Regions from separate parts of the Homo sapiens genome. Here all the other regions are linked to region 1. The links are contacts of gene promoters, found by promoter capture Hi-C in blood cells and fetal thymus (Javierre and others, 2016). All regions are on one chromosome and are shown on one strand. The core of a region is centred on a gene start or on the middle of the fragment in contact, and the rest is flanking DNA. Distances in the headings are between cores, read along the strand shown.

Region 1 (2,646 bases), core at 86-2,585:
TGGGGAGGGGGGGCACCCGAGCTCAGCCAAGAGGGGCCCCCACCCAGCCAGGAGGGGGCGCTGAGAGGGGCGGAACGACAGCTGGCCCAAAAGGGGTGGGATAGAGTTCCTTGTTAGGCCCAGAGCCAGGGCCTGGAATAGAGTAGGGGACAGGGGAGAGGATGGGGGCGGTTAGAAACATGGGGTGTGCATGGATCCAATCAGGCCTGAGAAGCCAGGGAGGAGGGAAGGGGGTGAGGCTTACTGGGTGCCTCACATTGGACAGGGAAAGCTGAGGACCTAGAACATTTTCCAGGGTCCCATGGGAACATGGCCAGATAAAACCCCCCGGCAGCGGCCCCAGGGCACAGGTTCCCCTGTGTTCCAGCAGAGCTGCACCTGCTGGGCAAGTGAACCCAGAAACCCACCCTCTGCCCGGGATGACCCCATCTGAGTACTGCGGCAGGGGGCGTTCCCATCACAGCCTGCAGGCTCACAGCACCCTGCCATGGAGTCTCCCCAAAATAAAGCTTGGATGAGGCTCCCCTGTCTCTCAGGATGGGGGTGCAGGGGTGAGATGAGGGGCTGGACTTTGGGAAGTGGGTCCAGCTTGTTTCCCTGTTATTTAAGGGGGTGACTCTGGCTTTTGAAAGGATACAAAAAGTCTCTTGGGAAGGGTCCCAGACGGCTTCTGAAAGGGGCTCCCCTCTGCCCATTTCTAGGGAAACCCAATGTTTAGGAGACTGTGTCAGGAAGCATACTATTAGAGGAGATCTCTCCTCTCTTGAACTCAGGAGCTGAATGCCATTCCAAGGGACTCCCTATATGTGGGAAGGCTCCATTTAGGGGTATCCCATATCACCTAGGATCCCAGGCACCTGGTGGCAAAGAATACCCTCAATTTTGGGGGGTTCAGAGGCCAGAGGGATCAATATGTGGAGGGCGAATATCTCCCGCAGAAGCCTGGGGACTGCTCAAATGCAATCACCCCTAATTTATCAGGAATCCCAAGTTCCACCCCCAACCAGGAGGGTAAATGAGCCTTGGGTAGCGAGAAATCGGGAACCCCGAAGCCGCTCTTGGCCAGAGGGGCGGGGCAGCCAGAGACGTAGGGAATCCCCCACCCCTGCAGTCCCTAAGGGTGGAGAGTGCGGTGGGGATGTGCCTCCAACTGCGCGCCCCGGGGCGTTCTTGGCTCGCACCCGCGAACCCCACCCCCCCCAACAATCCAGCTCAGGGGTCTCCAGGAGGAGAGCCCCCCAATTCCCAGAACTCCTGCCCCCGAACTTCAGTACCTTGCGCGCTGCAGCCCCAGCGCCATGGCTCGCCAGTCGCCGCTCCGGAGCCCTCGGAGGCCCCTAGCCCCCTCCCCGGCCTTGCGAGCCCCCTCCCCAGCTCCTCCCCACGCCGCGCGGTTGGCTGTGCCACGCCAGGCCTGAGGCTCTGATTGGGCAACGGTATGTCACTCCTGAAAAGGAGGCGGAACCAGAGGGAAAGACTTGGAAAGGCAAGGGGGGGATACCGTGTAATACACACCCCCCAACCACGCCCCTCGCCGCGGACTTCCTCGGCAGTGTATCCCGCACCGTCGGCTGAACGCGCCTTCTCTAGTCCAGCCTCTGAAGTGCCAACGCCAGTACTCTTCTGAACCCACTCAGTTCACTCTGCTCTCTGGACCCCAGTCCCCAGCCTCTAACCCCCACCTCTTCTCACCTTTCCATTTCCTAACCCCAGTTGAGCCCCTCTGACCTCCAATCCCACCCCTTCCAAACCCCTAGCCCTGCCTTCTCTATCCCTTCTAAGGTATTCACAGAGTACCCCACATCTCCTCCCCACCCCCCAACTCCCAACCCCACCCCAGTTCCACAATCCTTGGCCCTCTGGCACCTACCCTTCTCTCTCTCTCCCCAGCCCCTCCCTGCCACCCCAGTCCCATACCCCACTTCGCCCCCATTCCTCCAGTCTGCACCCTCTGCACCCCAGCTTACCTTCCCTACCCCCTCTACTCCACCCTAACCTCTTGGCCTCTCTGACTCCCTTTTCAGGTTCCCATTGATGAATAATTAAGCTTATGTCAAGTAAATATGTTTTAACTCAATCACACCTACTTCAAAAAAGAGCCGAGAAATGTATTTTTTTTTAACTAGTCGACTATGAAGGGAGAAGTACAAAGGTACCAAGCAAGGGTGAAAGCATTACAGTTGGATAAGGAACAGAGTGTGTGTGTGTGTGTGTGTGTGTGTGTGTGTTGGACCACTATTCTGGATTTGGTTGGCAGGGAAGAGGATACTACAGCAGAAGTGGCCTTGTTGAACCTTGAACTTGCCAGGCAAGTTGCTCACCTTAGGGCCTTTGCACTTGCTGTTCCCACAGCTTAGCACACTCTTCCTCCAGGAATCCACACGGCTCCCCGGCTCACGCCAGTTCCCCACTCTGTTTTCTTTTGGGAAACCACTTCTCTGTCCTCTTCATCTATTTAATTTGAATAGGGCTTGGCCACTGCTCTGCCTTCACCAGCTCCAGGGATGGACATAGGATCCAAACCTGGCTAATCAGTTGAGTCTGCTTCCCTGGCCACAGTGATTGGTTCAGGGAAGGCATGTTACCTAATTTAGCCCAATGAGAATCAACCCTGAGACATTTGCTGAAACCATTAGGAAAGAGGAT
Region 2 (2,646 bases), core at 72-2,571, 370 kb after region 1:
ATGCGCAGCCACAAGGCATTCTGGGAAACGTAGTTTTGAGCCCTCCAGCCGCTGCAGTCGCAGGAAGGTGCGCTAGGAGAGTGGAATAGATGTTGAGAGGCGCCACACCTCCTCCACGTGGTTGCACGCCCTCTCTCTCTGTCCATCTCTGTTTTTACGTGCATGTATAATCTCACTTGCTGTCTTCGTGTGTGTTCTGTCTCCTTGGTTTGATTTTCCCCCCCATCTTTTTCACTCTCCAGAATTTGTTTTTGTTTTTGTTTAGTTTGAGACAGAGTCTCGCTCTGTCGCCCAGACTGGGGTGCAATGGCGCGATCTCGGCTCAGTGCAACCTCCGCGATTCTCCTGCCTCAGCCTCCCGAGTAGCTGGGACTACAGGCACCCACCACCACGCCCGGCTAATTTTTGTATTTTTAGTAGAGATGGGGTTTTGCCACGTTGGCCAGGCTGGTCTCGAACTCCCGACCTCAGGTGATCCACCTGCCTCGGCCTCCCAAAGTGCTGGCATTACAGGCGAGCCACCGTGCCTGGCCCCCACGCTCGTTTTATTTCAATTCTTCCATCTCTATGGCCTTCTCTGTCCTTTTTCTTGGTCACCACCTGTATGACCAGTGCCAATTCTCATAGCCCCCTGCCTCACCATTATCCTCATCCTCAGTTCCAACCTTACTATCGGGGATCTCCCTCTTGACCTTCACCCCACTCTCAGCTGAACCAGAAGCTCAGATCCCTAAGGAAGAAGAGGAGGGAGAGGTAAGACATGGGTGTCCCGTAGTTCCACAGACAAGCCAGGAACAGGACCCATGCTTTGGCATTTCTCAGCTGCTCTCCCTGCAGGTGGAAAGATCAAGCACCTCCAGGTAGGCAACGTGAACCGAAAGAGACCGGTGAGTTACTGGCTAGAGTTGGAGTGGCCACAGTGGGGGATTATGGTTTCGGTTTGGAGCAGAGTAGGGCCCTCAGTTGGCCAGAAGTAATTGACCACTCAGCTTTACTCTCCAGAAAGCTGCGGCCATCTCAACCCCATTTTCTCTTCACTGTTCTTTCTCTTAACCAATGAGCTTCCAACTGTAGGGAAATGGAGCTGCATCCTTCTCAGGAGGTACCTAGTCATTTAAAAAAATACATTTATTGGCCGGGCGCAGTGGCTCACGCCTGTAATCCCAGCACTTTGGGAGGCCAAGGCGGGTGGATCACGAGGTCAGGAGTTCAAGACTAGCCTGGCCAAGATGGTGAAACCCTGTCTCTACTGACAATACAGAAATTAGCAGAGCGCGGTGGCAGGCGCCTGTAATCCCAGCTACTCAGGAAGCTGAGGCAGGAGAATCGCTTGAACCCAGGAGGTGGAGGTTGCAGTGAGCCGAGATCGTGCCACTGCACTCCAGCCTGGAGACAGAGCGAGACTCTCTCTCAAAAAACAAACAAACAAACAAACAAAAAACAAGTACACACACACAAATGAGTACAAATAAGTGTAAAATCTGAACAACATCAGTGGATTGTATCGATGTCTATATCTTGGTTGTGGTATTGTACTACAGTTGTGGAAAATGTTACCATCAGGGAAAACTGAGGAAAGGACACGAAGATCTCCATTATTTATTATGACAACTTGTGACTTTACAATTCTCTCCAAATAAAAAGTTAAAAGAAAGCACTGATGAAATGCAAAGACAGGACATAACACCTGTAAAATGTGCAGTGTAAACAGGGTGGCTAGAAGAACACAAAAAAGGTGGTTGTTTCTTCAACGGGTTTGCTGGGAGCATATGATTGGATTTCAGTACTGTGGCCTCCAGGGCCTGGCTTAGATAGGAAGTGCAAAGAAAGACCCTCCTTTCACTAAGCTGGGACCCCAAAGTGCTTTCTGCTGAGTGAGTTCGAGCCAGACCTAAACCTGTCCCTGTCCCAACTCCAAGTCCCAACTCCAAAGGTAGCAGCATCAACACTGAGCAGAATGGGATAAGGAAGAAAAAAAAGTCCCTGAGAAGTTGTGGCTTCAGAATGGCCCAAGAACAGTGTTGACACCCCCAGTGTAGATAACTGGATGAGTCAAGGAACAAGAAACCAGAACCATGTTTGGAGAGGCTGTAACTGGAAGTGTCTGAGGGGTGCCTAACCAAAGCAAACACAGACCCTGGAATCCATGCATTCAACTCAGGCCCAGGGGAAATTCCCCAGTTAAATGCAAAGGTCGGCCGGGCGCGGTGGCTCACACCTGTAATCCCAGCACTCTGGGAGGCCGAGACAGGCGGATGACTTGAGGTTGGGAGTTCGAGACCAGCCTGGCCAACATGGTGAAACTCCGTCTCTACTAAAAATACAAAAATTAGCCAGCCGTAGTAGCACGCACCTGTAATCCCAGCTACTCCGGAGACTGAGGCAGGAGAATCGCTTGAACCCAGGAGGTGGAGGTTGTGGCGAGCCAAGATCACGCCCCTGCACTCCAGCCTGGGCAAAAGAGGGAGACTCCACTAAAAAAAAAAAAAAAAAAAAAAAAAATGCAAAGGTCAATAATCATCAGGCCGACATAATCAGGTCACAGGGAAATATGACACCAATAAGAATCAAAAGAACAGAAAAGGTGTGGCTCAGACTTTAGATGCTGGGAGATCAGACACCAGTATTAAAACAGTCATGAGTCAT
Region 3 (2,646 bases), core at 71-2,570, 360 kb before region 1:
CTTCTTGGAAGAGGAGGCGAAGTCAGGGCTCGACCCCCTAACCCTTTTCTCCCCCTGCGCAGCCTCAGAAGCTGAAGGTTGGGCGGGGTGGAGGGGTAGGAGCAGCTGCCAAACTGTCACGTGTACCCATTCCCTATTTATAGATCACCCTTCCCCTCGCGCCGGACAGTCCAATGGTAGCCAGCGCTCGCCCGCAAGAGGGTGGAACCTGCTGCAGGACCGGCCAGGCACAGACCAATGGCATTGAAGCAAGGGCGGGCTTGTTTCATTGTGACGCGTGGGGGGGCGTGGCCAGGGCCCCGAGGCAGTTGCACGGAGGGGGCGTGGCGAGCGGAGTGAGTAGGCAGTTGCGAGCATGCGTCGTGTTGGGCGGTGCGGTTGCACGCCCGAGAGTCTTCGTCAGGAAGCTTATTCGCCAATAGGCGGCTGTTGCTCGGTCGCCGGGGGCGTGGCCATGCAGATAAGGCGCGGGTGGGCGGCCCAATGGGCGGGCGCCTATGCAGATGAGACGGTGACAGCCCGGCCAGCGGGCGGGCGGGCAGGCTGCTGGGGCGGGGAGGTGGGACCGGGAGAGGGGTGGCCGCGGGGCCCGGCCGGGCTGGGGCGGGGGGCCGCAGCCATGATCCGGGCCTTCTCGTTCCCGGTGAGCCCTGAGCGGGGCCGGCTGCGGGGCTGGCTGGAGGGTAGCCTGGCCGGGCTCTGCGAGTTACATTGGCTCCGGGAGAGGCAGGAGTACCGCGTGCAGCAGGCGCTGCGGCTGGCCCAGCCCGGAATGGGGGGCGCCGAGGCCGAGGACGAGGAGGACGCCGATGAGGATGAAGATGCGGCGGCGGCGCGCCGGGCCGCAGCGGCCCTGGAGGAGCAGCTGGTAAGGGGCTGCCTGTCCGTCCGTCCCTCCACCCCCGTCTGTGTCTGTCTGTCTCGGTTGGATGCTCAGACACCGGGCGGGGGTTGGGGACCCGGGTAGGCAGGGAGTGAGAAAGGACAGGGGGTGGGGCTGGCGACCCCGGAGTTCCGGCGGCGGGCCGGACCTGGCCTCCCCGCCCCCAAATCGGGGGAGGGGGAACTGCATCGCCCCCACTGGGGCCTCGTGAGAAACACAGGCCCTGTCTCTTACACCCCTTCCCCAAAGAAAATCCTTGTGGGCGCCAAGTATGTGTCAAACCCGAGACCGGGTACTTTGCAGGCGTTGTCTTCTTGCGGCTTGGGAAACGGGGTGATAGTCCCCATTTAACAGAGAAACAAATTGAGGCTCAGAGAGAGCAAGCGACTCACCCAAGGTGACACAGCCAGGCTCCAAACATGCCCTTCTCTGGGCCCCGCCACCAGGGCTCCATCTTCCCTAAGTCCTGGTGTGCTTGGAGATCTCTGGAGGGGGCGGGGTGGGAGGAGGGGAATCTCAGGGCCTCCAGAGGGAGGGACCACTGCTGAGAGGAAGCTCACAGTCCCTGAGGACCCCCCACTGGGATCTTGACCCTTTGGTGACACTTCCCCTGCTTCCTACCTGGCCCCAGCTCTCCTTGACCCAAGGGGAGGCAGGTCGAGGCAGCGCCTGGGGGAGACTTCTGGACTCTGGGTGTTCTCATGGTGGAAGATGGGCAGAGGTCTCCGGAATGACTTGAGGACGCCCCATGCCTCTCCCCTTTCTATGTCATTCCTTGAGTCTCCCGATCTCGTCCTGGGTTCTGTCACTCTCTCCGTCCTGCCACATCCCTGTGACTTTCTGTGTCTGCTTCTCTTTCTTCATCCTGTCTCTCTGTCTCTGTGATCTCTGTGTCCCTCTGCATCTGTCTCCTTGGCCTTCCCTTCCTGCCTGTCTGCACCTCGCTCTCTTCTTCTTGCCCGACGTCCCAGGCTCAGTCTGTCTTCCCCTCCCCCCAGCCCGCACACCCTGGCTCCACGGCAGATCCCCATCCCCAAGCCTGTGTGTGGCCAGAGCTTCCCGTTTCGGGAAACCTGAGCCGAGGTGGCAGTGGAGGGGGCTCTCCCCGCCGCTGACCTCGACCGCCCCCTCCCCAGATGGGGAGTGGGGAGGAAGACTGAAGCCAGGCTCCCGGGGCTGCACGCCCGGCCCCTCCCCCTCTCAGGAGTGGGACCCCCCTGCACATTCTTTTCTGGAAACAGAAACAGCTGTGGGAGGCCCCACCCCCTCCCAAAGTTAGAGACGGATTGTGGGGGCCTTCGCTAGCTCCCCCCACCCCAAGCTGGCTCGGCTTGGAAGGCGCCTTCCATCCTGACAAGGAGAATGCGAGGCATGAGGTTGGGGTAGCTGTGGGTAGCTGTGTCCTCTCCCCCTCTGCCCTCGGTCTCTCCCCTTTTCACCCTTCACCTTCCCCATCTCTGCCCTTCAGTCTCCCTCTCCTCGGTCCCTCTGTCCCCTCCTCCCCCTCAGCCCTCTGTCCTCCCGGCACGAGCTGATAGTGGAGAGGCCTGTCCCCCCACCCCCCAGTCTCTAGGCAAAGCTTGTCCCAGCATCAGGGAGGAGGCGGTGGCAGGCGGGGGGAGGAGGAGGAGCAGAGAAGCGCTAAATATAAACTTCTCTAGTGCTGGGGGTTCCTGGGTCCCTCTGAAGAGTGGATTAGGGCTTCTTCTGATCCCCCAACCCTTGTCTTATGACTTATCCCCCCACCCCCAGCCCCTGCCAGG
Region 4 (2,646 bases), core at 46-2,545, 350 kb after region 1:
GACTGGAGTGTAGTGATGCCATTTTGGCTCACTTCAACCTCCACCTCTTGGGCTCAAGCCATCCTCCCTTCTCAGACTCCCAAGTAGCTGGGACTACAGGCATGCACCACCACACTCAGTTAATTTTTGTACTTTTTGTAGAAATGAGGTTTTGCCATGTTGTCCAGGCTGTACAACTTGTGAGCTCAAGCGATCTGCCCACCTCAGCGTCCCAAAGTGCTGGGATTACAGGCATGAGCCACCATGCCTGGCCTTTTTTTTTTTTTTTTTTTAGATGGAGTCTCACTCTGTCATTCAGGCTGGAGGGCAGTGGCATGATCTCGGCTCACTTGAGAATCACTTGAACCCAGGAGGTGGAGGTTGCATTGAGCTGAGATGATGCCACTGCACCATAGCCTGGGTGACAGAGCAAGACTGTGTCTCAAAAAAAAAAAAAATAATAATAATAATAATAAAGTCAGGGAGACCAACAGGGAATAGAGCATGGGGAGCTCTGTCACAGCAACACCCCCTTTCTCCTACAAATATTTTGTCATGTTCACTTGACTCTCTGAAATACTATTCATATTCATATATACACATATAGACATATCTACACCCGTAAGACTTTTTGACAGCTTTATTGAGATATAATTCACATACAACTCACCCTTTTAAGGTACACGGCTCTAGGCCCAGTATGGGGGCTCATGCCTGTAATCCCAGCACTTTAGGAGGCCGAGGCCGGAGGATCACTTGAGCCCAGAAGTACAAGGCTGCAGTGAGCTCTGATCACACCACTGCACTCCAGCCTGGGTATCAGAGCAAGACCCTATTTAAAAAAAGAGAAACATAAAATACATGATAAATAAAGTGTACAGTTCATTGGCTTTTATTATAGTCACATAGTTGTACACCTATTGCCACAATCCATTTTCAAACATTTGCACTGCCTTCAAAATAAATCCTTTTTTTTTTCTTTCTTTCTTTTTTTAGAGGCAGGGTCTTGCACTGTCACCCAGGCTGGAGTGTAGTGGCACCTGTTATAGCTCACTGCAGCCTCAAACTCCTGGGCTCAAGTGATCCCTTAGACTCCTGAGTAGCTGAGACGACAGGTGCACACCACTGCATCCAGCTAATTTATTTTTATTTTTTGTAGAGATGAGGTTTCACCATCTTGCCCAGGTTGATCTCTAATTCCTGGGCTCAAGCAGTCTCTGGCCTCTGCCTCCCAAAGTGCTGGATTACAGGCATAAGCCACCGAGCCTGGCCTCCAAAAGAAATCTTGATCATCTTAGCTATGACCCCTCGATCTCCCACCTCAGCTCACCCTCTCCCTAACCCCAAGCCACCACAAATCTACTTTCTGTGTCTATAGATTTGCCTATTCTGGACATTTCTGTAAAAGGAATCACACAGTATATGGTCAACCATCAACACTTTCTAATTCCAGAAAGTATCTATTACCCAAAAGAAATCCTATGCCTGTAGGCAGTTACCCCCAATCCCCTTCCTCCCATTCCCTGGCAACCACTAATCTACCTTTTTGGCTCTGTGGATCTGCATATTCTGGACATTTATGTAAATGAACTCAGCTGTGGTCTTTTGTAACTGGCTTCTTTCACTTAGCATAATTTTTTCTAGATTCATCCACGCTATAGCATGTATCAGTACTTTGTTCATTCAACGTATTGCCAAGTAATATTCCATTGTATGGATATACCATGTTTTATTTATCCCACGAGACTTTTTTAAATAAAGAAGAAATAAAAGGAAGGTGATTTGTTATAAAACAAGATGAATTTTATTTTTTGCTTCTTTGTTGTTGTTTTTGTTTTTTGTTTTGTTTTGTTTTTGAAACAGGGTCTGCTCTGTTGCCCAGGCTGGAGTACAGTGGCACAATCACAGCTCACTGCAGCCTCAACCTCCTGGGCTCAAGTGATCCTCCCACCTCAGCCTCCCAAGTAGCTGGGACCACAGGCAGATGCCACCACACCTGGCTATTTTTTGTATTTTTACTAGAGACAGGTTTTCATCATGATGCCCAGGCTGGTCTTGAACTCCTGGGCTCAAGTGATTCACCCTGCCTCAGCTTCCCAAAGTGCCGGGATTACAGGTGTGAGTCACTGCACCCAGCCAAGGTGAATTTTAATATGTAAATAAATAGTCAGGACCACAATAGAAGGAATAATGAATTAGGCAGCTGCTCACACCTAAGCATAGCTAAGTGAGACAACTACATATGTAAAGTGATCCAGAGTATAATACTGGAGACTTAAATAATACAAATGCTGTTGCTACTGACGCCAGGTTTTCTAAAATGATGAAAACTTTTAGTGAAGTGCAGAGCAAAACAAAGCACAATCTGCTCTTGATTTACTGGTAGTTGCGTTCCTGGAAATTTCAGTAGCTCTTAAAACCATGCAAACAATACTTGGTACTTACATGTGTCATGGGGTTGGGCTCTGAGCTCAGAGATTTTTTTTATTTTGTTATTTTTATTTACTTATTTATTTTGGGGGGGATAGGGTCTCACTGTGTCAGTTGGGTTCTGGGCTCAGAGACTTTTTTTTTTTTTTGAGTCAGGGTTTCACTGTGTTGCCCAGGTTGAAGTGCAGTGGCACAATTACAGCTCACTGTAGCCTATACCTCCCAGGCTCAAGTGAT
Region 5 (2,646 bases), core at 110-2,609, 270 kb after region 1:
GAATTAGATGTACTGCCCTGGTGAGATGCCCATGAAATATTAGGTGACAAAAGGTAAATTGATGCACATGGTTTTGATTTTTTTTTTTAATGTCCTTATATAAGTTTGTAGGGAGGAGAATACGGTTTATAACTCTGCAGGCAGAAAGCCTGTAGCCAAACCCTGGCTTCATCACCTCCTGTATGTGATCATCCCCCCGGGCCTCAGTTCCGTCAACTGTAAGAGGGGTTAATAATAACATGGATCTGGCAAGCTTGTCGTTGAGTATATGATAATTTCTGAAAAGTGCTACAGATGCCTGGTGCACAATTCAGTAACAGCATGAGTACAATGTATATGAGAAGGCAGAACACAGAAGATGAAAACACACCACACAGGTCAGGCACGGTGGCTCATGCCTATAGTAATCCCAGCACTCTGGAACACTGGCAGGTGGCTCACCTGAGGTCAGGAGTTCGACACCAGCCAGGCCAACATGGCAAAACCCCGTCTCTACCAAAAATATAAAAATTAGCTGGGCGTGGTGGTGTGCACTTGTAATCCCAGCTACTCAGGAGGCTGAGGCAGGAGAATCACTTGAAGCCAGGAGGCGGAGGTTGCAGTGGCCCAAGATCGCACCATTGCACTCCAGCCTGGGTGACAAGAGCAAAACTCCATCTCAAAAAAAAAAAAAAAAAAAAAGGAAAATATTATTTATAAAATAGAAAATTAAAAAAAAAATTTTAAATACACATTTTTAAAAACCACTTGCAGGCTCTCACACACTGCATATCCAGGATTCACATGCAGGCAGCCTGGCTCTAGACGCGGGGCTCCAGTGCCTCCGGTGTCTCAGCCCGTGACTTCCCTGCTCTCAACCTCAGTTTACTCCACTGTGAAATGGACTTCCAGATACTCACCTCTTGAGTTTGCTGCAAGCGTAAATGGCATCAGGCTTGGACCTGGGGGAAGGAAGTGTTTTTAAAATGGGTAGCTTTGTTACCTCAGTCCTTGCGGGGAGAAGATGTGCCAATGCCCCGGGCCTCTGCGATGTAAGTTCCTGTTGAGTTGTTCAATGTTCCACTGAGAGGAGAGACAAGCAGGACCGGGATCCCGGCCCCGGGTCTTCCAGAAACGGCGGGGCGAAGCGCCCAGGGGCCTGTGCGTCCCTCCCTGCTGAGCGAGGGGGCCTGTCATTGCCGTGGGCGTGACCCAGACCCCAACCACAGTGCATCCCGCCCTGGCCCAGCCAGAGAAGGAAGCTGAGTCTGGGGTCTGCTGGGCCAGCAGGAAGTCCCAGCAGGGTGTGAAGCAAGACTTTCCGGGCCACTCCTGGAATCCCCCAGCAGATAAAGGCGGCCCCTCCACCGGGCGCTCCTAGCGGTCTCCCGGACCCTGCCGCCCTGCCACTATGTCCCGCCGCTCTATGCTGCTTGCCTGGGCTCTCCCCAGCCTCCTTCGACTCGGAGCGGCTCAGGAGACAGAAGACCCGGCCTGCTGCAGCCCCATAGTGCCCCGGAACGAGTGGAAGGCCCTGGCATCAGAGTGCGCCCAGCACCTGAGCCTGCCCTTACGCTATGTGGTGGTATCGCACACGGCGGGCAGCAGCTGCAACACCCCCGCCTCGTGCCAGCAGCAGGCCCGGAATGTGCAGCACTACCACATGAAGACACTGGGCTGGTGCGACGTGGGCTACAAGTGAGTGTGGCAGGGGGGCACGGGCTGGACTGGGGATCCCAGAGGCAAAGGTGTGCAAGTGCCCGCCAGCGGGACCATTTCTAGGCCTGGTGCTGAGGCCACCTGGCTGACACCCTGAGCAGCTTACTGAACCTCACAAGGTCATTTCTTCCTCGGGTCACCACGTGGGCCGGGGCAGGTGCTCACAGCACAAAGATGCGTGAGAAGGGGGGATGGGCTGAAATCCAAGCCCCGCTCCCGCTCCCGGGAAGAAGGGGCAGGCTTTGCCTAACACACACCAAGGTGTCCGCGACGCCTTATGAAGGCGCCCCTTCCTGATGCCTGGTGCCTTTGTTAGGAGGCGGAAAACCAGGCTGACTCAGTGCGGAGCTGGGTTCCAGGGTCAGCTCATCTTATTGCTGGCTGAGGCCTGGGGCGGGTCCTCCCGGCTTCAGCTTCCTCCTCGGCAAAGTCAATGGAATCGCGGCCCATCTGCTCCTTATATGAGCCAATACAGGCAAAGCACCTAGGAACTGCCTGGCACACGGGGGCCCGCAAAGCCACGGGCTATTACCATTAGGCACCTACTATGTGCCAGGCAGTGTGCCAGATGTGGCATGGAGAACGGTGCCACTCTAGCCTCCTGGGGTTGAAAGACCAGCAGGGAGAAACAAGCCAAGGCCACAGGTGAATTCAGACGGTGATAGAGGCGATGGATAAAAGGAAAGAGGTGAGGGAGGGTGACCTCAGGCTGGGACCAGACCCACACAGGCTCCTTGGAAGGGTGGGGCAAGGGAAAGCCTCCCTGAGAGTGGCTGCCTTGGCTCTGGGATGGGGGAGCAGACAGAGGCCTGCAGGTGGCAGGGGGTGCTGGGGGCAAAGCCAACGGGGTTGAGTGGGCGGGTCCTGTGGGAAGGACAGGGTGGCTGAACACAGCCGGGCGAGCGGAATGAAATGAGGAAAGGGCAGGACCAGGCAGGGCTTTGTGGA

The links. The method cuts DNA at HindIII sites, captures the fragments that hold promoters and counts their contacts. A CHiCAGO score of 5 or more calls a contact.
Region 2: a fragment that was not itself captured here is called in contact with the fragment with the promoter of HIF3A in region 1 in 1 of 17 cell types (M1 macrophages); the score reaches 5.4 in M1 macrophages.
Region 3: the fragment with the promoter of DACT3-AS1 here is called in contact with the fragment with the promoter of HIF3A in region 1 in 2 of 17 cell types (erythroblasts and M0 macrophages); the score reaches 6.5 in erythroblasts.
Region 4: a fragment that was not itself captured here is called in contact with the fragment with the promoter of HIF3A in region 1 in 2 of 17 cell types (M1 macrophages and M2 macrophages); the score reaches 8.7 in M1 macrophages.
Region 5: the fragment with the promoter of PGLYRP1 here is called in contact with the fragment with the promoter of HIF3A in region 1 in 3 of 17 cell types (M2 macrophages, M1 macrophages and M0 macrophages); the score reaches 8.8 in M2 macrophages.

Annotation. Positions count from the first base shown.
Region 1 is chr19:46,295,731-46,298,376 of GRCh38, reverse strand. It overlaps HIF3A (hypoxia inducible factor 3 subunit alpha), which reads right to left and starts at 1,335. Exons shown (of 15, transcript NM_152795.4): 1 at 1,275-1,335. The coding sequence starts at 1,300. The HindIII fragment of the contact is 1,538 bases long and covers 512-2,049 here.
Region 2 is chr19:45,925,223-45,927,868 of GRCh38, reverse strand. No RefSeq gene overlaps it. Among named protein-coding and RNA genes, the nearest start is that of NANOS2, 12 kb to the right of the region's middle. RefSeq lists enhancers at 28-97, 403-903. The HindIII fragment of the contact is 2,727 bases long and covers 1-2,646 here.
Region 3 is chr19:46,659,038-46,661,683 of GRCh38, reverse strand. It overlaps DACT3-AS1 (DACT3 antisense RNA 1), which reads right to left and starts at 1,320. Exons shown (of 3, transcript NR_040042.1): 1 at 1,276-1,320. It overlaps DACT3 (dishevelled binding antagonist of beta catenin 3), which reads left to right and starts at 502. Exons shown (of 4, transcript NM_145056.3): 1 at 502-868. The coding sequence starts at 620. RefSeq lists silencers at 125-244, 455-704. The HindIII fragment of the contact is 2,055 bases long and covers 410-2,464 here.
Region 4 is chr19:45,943,630-45,946,275 of GRCh38, reverse strand. All of the region lies in intron 3 of NOVA2 (NOVA alternative splicing regulator 2), which reads left to right. Among named protein-coding and RNA genes, the nearest start is that of NOVA2, 29 kb to the left of the region's middle. The HindIII fragment of the contact is 6,111 bases long and covers 1-2,646 here.
Region 5 is chr19:46,021,766-46,024,411 of GRCh38, reverse strand. It overlaps PGLYRP1 (peptidoglycan recognition protein 1), which reads left to right and starts at 1,359. Exons shown (of 3, transcript NM_005091.3): 1 at 1,359-1,677. The coding sequence starts at 1,391. RefSeq lists an enhancer at 1,866-2,646. The HindIII fragment of the contact is 5,413 bases long and covers 256-2,646 here.